Linked DNA regions of Homo sapiens: regions 1 and 2 are each linked to region 3. Evidence: promoter capture Hi-C in 16 types of primary human blood cells and fetal thymus (Javierre and others, 2016). All regions are on one chromosome and are shown on one strand. Each heading gives the region's core, a stretch centred on a gene start or on the middle of the fragment in contact. The rest is flanking DNA. Distances are from core to core; before and after follow the strand shown. Region 1 overlaps CAPZB (capping actin protein of muscle Z-line subunit beta). Region 2 holds the start of MICOS10-NBL1 (MICOS10-NBL1 readthrough). Region 3 holds the start of ALDH4A1 (aldehyde dehydrogenase 4 family member A1).

Region 1 (2,700 bases), core at 157-2,656, 580 kb before region 3:
GGCACCCCCTCGGTGACCCTGGCGTGGGCCCCCTTCCTCCCCCGGTCTAGGGCTAGGTCTGCTTTCCCCCGTCTCTCCGGCCCAGGCTAGGCCGTCGTTTCTCCCTGCCATGGCCCAGGCTAGGCCGCTGCCTCCCTCTGTCCCTCCCCCTTTGCCTTCTCCATGGCCTCAGGCTGGACCCCGGTCAGCCCCTTCTGCAGCGGCCTAGGTTTGCTTCCCCTCTTCTCCGTGGCCTCAGCCTGAATCTCCTCTTCTCTCTGTGAACTTAAATCTGGACCTCCTCTTCTCCGCCCATGGCCCCCGTCTGGACCTCACTGCCCCCTCCCCACCATGATCCCCTTCCCTGGACTTTTCGCCACTCCTAGCGTAACCTGCGTCAGCCCCGCTCGGTCCCCGCCCTGAGCCTCTCATCAGGGTCCTGCCCCCTGCCTGGTGCACGACCCAGGGTCCCCTTCCCTGTACCTGGGGCGCGCCTTCTTTGCAGCCTTTGGGGAGCGAGGGGAGCTCTCCATCAGGGATGGGGTGGTCCCGGTGCTGTGCCTTCTCAGTTGCCGCTTCTAGGGAGGCCGCCTAGGAGCCAGCGAGGGAAGGGCGGGCATCGGTGTGCCCAGAAGGCAGCGCGCTGCTCTGCGGGCCCTTCTCGAGGCTGCCGCCGTGGGTGCTGTGCGTGCGAAGCATTCTGCAGGGCAGGCCGGGGTCCACGGCGCCCGGGCCTGAGTGGGAGCCGAGGGGCGAGGATGGGTGGCCCACAGGACAAGGATGAACGCACAATCGCCCTTGTGAGGCCGTGGCCTTGGGGGGCCACCAGGCCCTGGATCCAGCATATGGCCTGGACACGATGCACCCAAGCAGGCGCAGCCTCCCCTTCCCTCTGAACTGTCAGCTTGCAAGGGTTGGAACTGCTGATTATGGAAGTCCCTCGGATCAGGTGAGCAGAACGCCTAGGGAGAGTGCTGGCTCCGCTCGTGGTGTTTGTTTTGGTAAAGAAGGCAGATGCTATCCAGACTTTTGAGGAACCTGGGGTTTCACATAGGCCCCCACAGATAGACCTGCCCTCCTGCCACTTGACCCTTCTGCAGGACAGGCCCAGCACTTAGGTTGGAAGGGCCAGAGAACTTCTTCCTGACAGGATCAAGGGATTTTTGGAGCATGTTTGTATGTGGACTTTGGGCCTCAAAGTGTTTTGAGGACCATGGTTCCTTGTTTAGTCAAGGGATGTTGCTGCTGAACGAGGGTGAGTAGTTGAGATGGGTTAAGCTTTCTTTTGATGCCTTCCTGTATGCTGATTAAAAACATGGGCAATGCCACTTTTAAGGCCTTCGGATTTGTCCAGTAACTTTGGCTGAAAACTCCTTGTTTGGGGAGGTGGGCCTGGCCCCAGGCCTTGATGGAGAACGACTTCTCCAGGGCAGTGGTGGGTGAGGACTTTGAAAGTGGGCTGAAGTTTCCTGAGTGTGCACTCAGGACAAAGTATAAGGCAGGAAGCAGCGATTCTCGCCAGGTGATGGGAAAGTGCCTCAGTCCCCCAGGAGGAGCACATGACACCTGAAGCTTCTCAGGAGTCTTGTACTCAGCTCTCATCTGAAAAGGCTGGAAAGGGTGGAGGAACTGTCTGCCAGTCACTGTGGTGTGCTTCACCTGTACAAGCTGTTTTCATCCACAGGAAGCCCTTCTGGGGCTGTCCCCATTTTATAGATGAGGCAGCTGAGGCTCAGGAGGTGGAGTGACTTATTCAGGGTGTTGCTCAGCCAGTGGAGGAACCACTGTTGGTCAGTGGAAGCCCATCTGGCAGGCTCTAAACTGTTCTTCCCATTGTACCAAGCTGCTTGTATGTCAGAAGGTTTAATGATACCGTTTGAAAAACATAAAATGGGATATTCAAACATGGCAAGGGGGGAGGAGCAGTATTTATTGCCCATGTATTGTATTTTAGATCCTTTGTATAGGAAATCATGTTTATAGTGAAATAGCTGTATGGTGATACAGGCATATTTAGCATGGGCCAGAATGAGCTCTTGGAGGGCAGAGATTTGTGTCTTGTGTTTTCCGCAGCTGTATCCGTGGGGCCTAGAACAGCACCTGGCGTTGGAAGAAACCACTTGGAATGTTCTCTTTGGCATGTGTCTGTGTCCATGAACTTACCTGCTTGGATTTCATATTCATTCTCTCAGTCACTTGTTCTTAGTATCCCTTAGCCTTGTAATTTCTGACTGCTTATTGTTACGTTTATCCCCTATTTGAATACTCTGACCATTAAGCCGGTGTAGATGGTTGGCGTAGGACAGAAGTGGTGGTGTGAGGTTGCATTGTAGGTAAATGAATTCAGATCACCATGTTTTTCATTTTCAGTAGATTTGATGGTAGAGAATACAGCTAGATCTCTGTTATCCATTGAGGGAAATAGTGACTTGAGAATCTAAAATGCATTTGACTTTGGAATGAATTCCATGATTTTTGTTGGCATGAGTTTCTCCTTCCCAGTTAAAATGCATAGGCAAATGGAATTTATTTGCATTCCCTTAGCAGGTAATAATCTTACCACTGTCTGAGTGCTGTACAATTTCAGAGCACCGTTCCTTACACAGCTTCAGTTTCTGACTTGGGAATTATTCTTAGTTATGATGATGGTGAGGCTTTAGCAGGAACGGGGACTAGGGAGGCCCCCTCAGGAATTGCTGCTCCAGCTCACAGATGGTTTTG
Region 2 (2,874 bases), core at 309-2,808, 690 kb before region 3:
TGCCCCGACACTGTCTTCCACTCAAGAGCTCTGCGACTCTCCTGCCACCTGCCAACCCCGACCACCTCCTCCGGGCTGCAACTCCACCCCGCACCCGGGCTGCTGCTCCGGCTCCTCGGGTCTGTGCCCGCCGCCCGAGTGACCTCCCGCCGGGGCCCGGGCGGCTCGCCCTGGCCGGAGGGGCCGGAAAAGGCCGAGAGGCCTGACCTCCCGTGGGGCTTCCCTTCCTTCCTCCTGGGCAGCGCAGCCTGGAGCCAGCAGCTCTGCACCGGCCGGGCCTGCTGGGGCGAAAAGCCCCTTACCTATCTTCACGACCGCATCCGCCAGACACCGGTCCCACTTCCTGCCGAGCTCCGACTCAGACATGTTCCCCACCCGCGCCTCCAGCTTTCCTCTCGGCCGGCCCCCGCGCTCCGACCCCTGAAAGTCTCGCGAGAGCTGGAAACAAGTCCCAGGTCAGGAAGGCAGGCGCAGACGCTCCAGATATCGCGAGATGATCCGCTGCTTCCATCCCTTCCGGTTTTTTCAGTTGGTCGTCAAGGTGACGAGTTGTCTGGAGGCTCGAGGTGACCCTGACCTTGGGGCTGCGCCTATGGGTTTGCGAGGCTGACAGTTTCCTAGGCGTCACCCCAAGCCGTGACCAGGCCTTTCCTCCTCACCAAAGTGCGACATTGGCCCTGGAAATCCCCCGGGCAAGAGAGGGTACAGACTTGATTTATTCATTCATTAACGTACTCACCTTCACTTTCCCTACTCACTCTCTCATTCGTTCACTGGTTTCTTGCATTGGAATTCCCGCCTGAACCACTAACACCGAAACTGCTCTGGGAAAGATTACCTACCGCCAAATCAAATGGACTCTTTTCTGACCTCTGTACCGCATTCCACACAATTTTCCCTCCCTCTGATCCTCCCTGGCTCCTCTATTCGTTTCACTCCCGGTAACGCCACTCTTTCCTCTTCTCCCCATCTGCTGTTGTCTGTTGGTTTCCTCCAGGGCTGCCTTTTCTCTGCCAGCTGTTTAAGGACTGTTGGTTCGCAAGCTTCCATCAATTCTCTTTTCACTGTACAGACTCTCCCTGAGTAATTGCAAACACTGCCAAATTATATCTCCAGGTAAAACGTCTACCTCAGGCCTCCTATCCATGTATATATTTACACACCCACCCACACACACACACACATACACATACATACACAGGGTGCCCTCTGTATCTGTGGGTTTTGCATCCATGGATTTAACCAACCATGGACCAGAAACATTTTTGAATCAAATAAAAAATAATGCAAAATTTAAAATACAGTACAACTATTTACCTAGGATTTACATTGTATTAGGTATTATAAGTAACCTAGAGATGATTTAAAGTATATGGGAGCCAGCGCAGTGGCATGCGACCGTAGTCCCAGCTACTTGGGAGGCTGAGATGGGAGGATTGCTTGAGACTAGGAGTTCGACTTCATCTCTTTAAAAAAAAATAAGTAATTTTAAAAAAGGATATGTAAGCATGTGTGTAGGTTGTATGCAAATACCACGCCATTTTATATATGGGACTTGAGCATCCTGCATTTTGGTAACTGCGAGATCCTGAAACCAAATGCCCACAGCTATCAAGAGAGATTGTATATCCAGCCTACTGGCTAGTGTCATTGATTTTAGTCTTCCATCCTACCAACAAATAGAAATCTGACCACGTTATGCCTCTGATTAGAAGCTGTCAATGAAGGCCGAGAGCAGTGGCTCACACCTGTAATCCCAACACTCTGGGAGGCTGAGGCGGGAGGATTGTTTGAGGCCAGTAGTTCAAGACCAGCCTAGGCAGCATAGTGAGACTCCTGTCTCTACAAAAAATTTAAAAAATTAGCCAGGCTAATGTGATGTGTGCCTTTAGTCCCAGCTACTTAGGAGGCTGAGGTAGGAGGATCACTTGAGCCTGGGAAGTGGAGGCTACACTGAGCCATGTTCATGCCACTGCACTCCAGCCTGGGCATCAGAGTGATACCCTATCACAAAAGAAAAAAAAAAAAAGCTGTCAATGACTCCCATTCATACACTGGATCTATCCAAGCTTCAACACTGCACTGATTCTAGGAAGCCTAGTCAGATAGAGCTTAGAGCTGCCTTCCCCTTCTCATTGTCCCACTACCCTGCCTACCCGCATTGATTTCTCTATCTAGTACTGAAACATCTGGTTGTAGATATTATCTGCTAGTAGAACTAGAAGTTGCCCCTTCGTCTTCATACTTCCAGTCAGAGCACAATGCCTTGGATAGTAGGGTCTTCTATGAAATATTTGTTGAACTGAATTGAATTTATTCACCTATTTATTTGTTTATTTATTTATTGAGAGAGAGTCGCGCTCTGTTGCCCAGGCTGGAGTGCAGTGGCACGATCTCGGCTCACTGCAACCTCTGCCTACTGGGTTTGAGCAATTCTTCTGCCTCAGCCTCCAAAATAGCTGGGATTACAGGCGCCCACCACCACGCCTGGCTAACTTTTTGTATTTTTTTAGTAGAGATGGGGTTTCGCCATATTGGCCAGGCTGGTCTTGACTCCTGGCCTCAAGTGATCCACCCACCTTGGCCTCCCAAAGTGCTGGGATTACAGGCATCGTTCAACTATTTATTTGCAACTATGACAGCAAAACTCTGTTGTATCAGATCTTGCTACGACAGCCTCTTCCTTCAAGATAACTTCTATGACCACCCTTCCCTTCTCCTAGTTCTCTATTTTTTTAAATTATTCTTTCTTTTTTTTTTTTTTTTTGAGACAGAGTCTTGCTCTGTCACCCAGGCTGGAGTGCAGTGGCATGATCTTGGCTCACTGCAACCTCTGCCTCCCAGGTTCAAGAGATTCTCCTGTCTCAGCCACCT
Region 3 (2,700 bases), core at 60-2,559:
AACTGAGCCCACCTGTCTAGGGTTTTCTCCAAAGGTGAAGACAAATAGCCGCCACCAATTCCAATTTGCTTTTTGCCATTCCTAATACTTGGCATTTAGGTAATCTCCCTCTCCTACTCTTCATTTAAATGTTTACATTCTCCCAAAGTACCTCAAATGGTGTAATCTGGAGAAAAATAAGTGGCTTAAGATCACGGGGGCTTTGTGAGTTGGGTACTATTACTTCCGTTTTACAGATGAGGAAACTGAGGCCCGGAAAGGATATGTAGTCTGCCTAGTGCCCTGCTTGAGGAACCAAAATCAGCATGGGAACTGACTCCTAAGCAGGTGCGCGGTTCATGCTGCTGGAAGAAATATAAACAAATTAGAACAGAGAGTAAGGAAACGTAACATTACTTTAGGAATAGATTGGGTCCCTGAGACCTCGTCATCAGAGAAGACTTCAGAATCCAAGTTTTAAATAGCATTCTAGTGTTTACCAAGCACACAACATTTTGCAAAGAAAGCTGAAATTTTTACTTGGGGGTAAAAGGCTCAGGAACAACTGGTTTTGCGGCCAAAGGCTTTAAATGAAAAGCTAAGCGTTGGCCAGCTCAGGTTTTATCTTGCATTGATCGTAATCTGCAAGGAAGCTAAGAAGCTGGCCGGCCCCGCGCCTGGAGGGTAGGTGGAGAGCGGCTGGGTCCTGGCCAAGAAGCTGGAAGGCAGGCTCATTCCAGGGGCCGCAGCCCCCGGGAAGAAGCAGGGGGCTGGCCGCGCTGTGGCCCTGCGGGGTCGAGGAGTCTGGTAGCGGACAGGTTTCCAGCCTTGTACAAGCCACCGGCAGCCCGAGAGAAGTCAGTCGGACTCCCATCGAACCCGGGGCGCACGCCAGAGGGCCGGACGCAGCGAGTCCTTCTGCCCCGCTTCAGCACGTGTCCCATTTCGGTTATCTCATTGGCTCTATTCAGCCCCTCTCTGCTCCGCTTTGGAAGGCTGCCGCAGGACCGCCCCGCTGATTGGTTCAGAAGCTTTGGTGTGTCACTCTGACTGGTCGACAGAGTTCACGCCCTCTCTCCCGGGTCATACCATAAAGAGAGGAGGGGAAAACGCATGCATTTCAGGACTTCGCTTTCGGGTTCCCTTGTCCTGTGTTGTGTAATGCCCCCGTTATGGCACTAGAAATATTTTTTATTAGCCGAAGCTAAATATAGTGGGACTTTGGCTGATCCCGAGCTCGGAGGACAGCCGGGGTGATCCGTTTCCCCCCGAGGATCGAGGTGGTGCGCTCTGGACGGGGTTGTGCATTCTCGCCGCGCCCGGGCGGACGATCCAGCGAACAGCCCCGCTTCTAACCCGAGATGCTGCTGCCGGCGCCCGCGCTCCGCCGCGCCCTGCTGTCCCGCCCCTGGACCGGGGCCGGGTGAGTGAGCACGGGGCCCGGGGCGGCCCGAGCGCGCGCCTGGGGCCCGGGAGCCTGAGAGTCACTGGGCGTCCCCCGCGCCGCACTCCCTCCCTGCCGGACCCCCAAGCTGCCTCGGTCAACGCCGGGTTCCTCAGGGGCTCCCCTCCGACCCCCACCCAGGCCTTTCTCCCACTGAGATCCCTTAGCCTCCTCCCTCAGGTAGTCACCTTCCTTTAGCGAGGGGACCCCTCTTCCCGAATCCTGCGACCGAGTAGGGTGCCTCGGTGGCCCTGCCGGTTCCCACGCTCGGAAAGTAGCCTCTGTAGTCACTCACCTCACTCCTAATACTGGATCTTCGCAATTTGCTGGCTTCCCCTGAGGGGCCCTTCTATTTTTAGCACACCACACATCTCACTTCCCCACCCTCGTCTCACGTTCAGTGTCCCCATCCCGCCCCGGATTCCCCGAGTCCTCTCCTTCTACCAGGATTTCTACCTCTCTCTTTTCCGCTCCCCACACACCCCGCCGCCCGTTTTTTTTTTTTTTTTTCAAGTTAAATGTTGGACAGAAAAAAGGATTCCTTTCTTCTTGTAGGTGGAATAATCATATTTATAGAGTGCTTATAATGAACCAAATGCTGGCCGGGCAATTGGCAGGTGTCTTATGAGGATTAAATGAGTTAATACATGGGGAGTGCACTGAACAGTGCCCAGCACAAAGGCAGCGCCCGGTTATTATTATTGCCACGATCATCATCATTATCACCTCTATTTAAACTTCTCACTCCTGTGAGGCAGGTCATTATTCCAAATAATGAAGAAACCCAGGAGCAGTTCAGGGGTGGACCTGCCCTTCAAATCCCGATTTGCAAACCTGACATTGTGGAGCCAGGTGCCTGGACCCTTGCCCACTCAATGACAAATATTCTCAGAGCCCCTCCAGCTCGGAGCTAGGTTTGGAGAGGTAGGTGGGACACAGACCCTGCCCCAGAGGGGTTCCTAGTCTGGTGGGGCTGCCCACCTGTGGATCAGCCCCCCCTCCCATTTGAGGTTTGTTTGCTTGACCCCTGGGGCTGTTAGTGGCAGTGTCTTTCCTGATGAGCTGTGCCCTTTCTGAGTTAATCAGTGGCCCTCTCCCTTCCCCCAAGGGATGGCATGGTGGTGCTCTGAGCACAAGTGAGTTGCAACACTGCTGTGTGTCCTCTGTGGGTGAAGAGGGGATAGGAAAGGGCGCAGGAAGAGGACATGGGACAGAGGGGTTCCTCTTCTAGGCTGAGACTGGGGCCACACTTGCCATACTCCCTGTGTGATCCCGTT

Evidence for each region. Contacts are between HindIII fragments. The CHiCAGO score rates a contact against its expected background, and 5 or more counts as called.
Region 1: a contact is called between a fragment that was not itself captured here and the fragment with the promoter of ALDH4A1 in region 3, in 1 of 17 cell types (fetal thymus). The highest score is 13.1, in fetal thymus.
Region 2: a contact is called between a fragment that was not itself captured here and the fragment with the promoter of ALDH4A1 in region 3, in 6 of 17 cell types (fetal thymus, erythroblasts, activated CD4 T cells and 3 more). The highest score is 18.3, in fetal thymus.

The regions. Positions count from the first base shown.
Region 1 is chr1:19,482,418-19,485,117 of GRCh38, reverse strand. All of the region lies in intron 1 of CAPZB (capping actin protein of muscle Z-line subunit beta), which reads left to right. It also overlaps a transcript of LOC105376819 not described here. Among named protein-coding and RNA genes, the nearest start is that of CAPZB, 1.8 kb to the left of the region's middle. RefSeq lists enhancers at 1-285, 286-793, 794-1,302. The HindIII fragment of the contact is 294 bases long and covers 1,260-1,553 here.
Region 2 is chr1:19,594,538-19,597,411 of GRCh38, reverse strand. MICOS10-NBL1 (MICOS10-NBL1 readthrough) reads right to left here and starts at 433. Exons shown (of 4, transcript NM_001204089.2): 1 at 303-433. MICOS10 (mitochondrial contact site and cristae organizing system subunit 10) reads right to left here and starts at 433. Exons shown (of 4, transcript NM_001032363.4): 1 at 303-433. The coding sequence starts at 366. MICOS10-DT (MICOS10 divergent transcript) reads left to right here and starts at 580. Exons shown (of 2, transcript NR_135054.1): 1 at 580-702. RefSeq lists a silencer at 11-220 and an enhancer at 341-640. The HindIII fragment of the contact is 1,026 bases long and covers 1,046-2,071 here.
Region 3 is chr1:18,901,164-18,903,863 of GRCh38, reverse strand. ALDH4A1 (aldehyde dehydrogenase 4 family member A1) reads left to right here and starts at 1,309. Exons shown (of 15, transcript NM_003748.4): 1 at 1,309-1,402. The coding sequence starts at 1,341. It overlaps LOC124903866 (a long non-coding RNA gene), which reads right to left and starts at 1,751. Exons shown (of 2, transcript XR_007065519.1): 1 at 1,612-1,751; 2 at 493-1,054. RefSeq lists enhancers at 256-1,073, 1,013-1,242 and a silencer at 1,323-1,542. The HindIII fragment of the contact is 9,883 bases long and covers 1,013-2,700 here.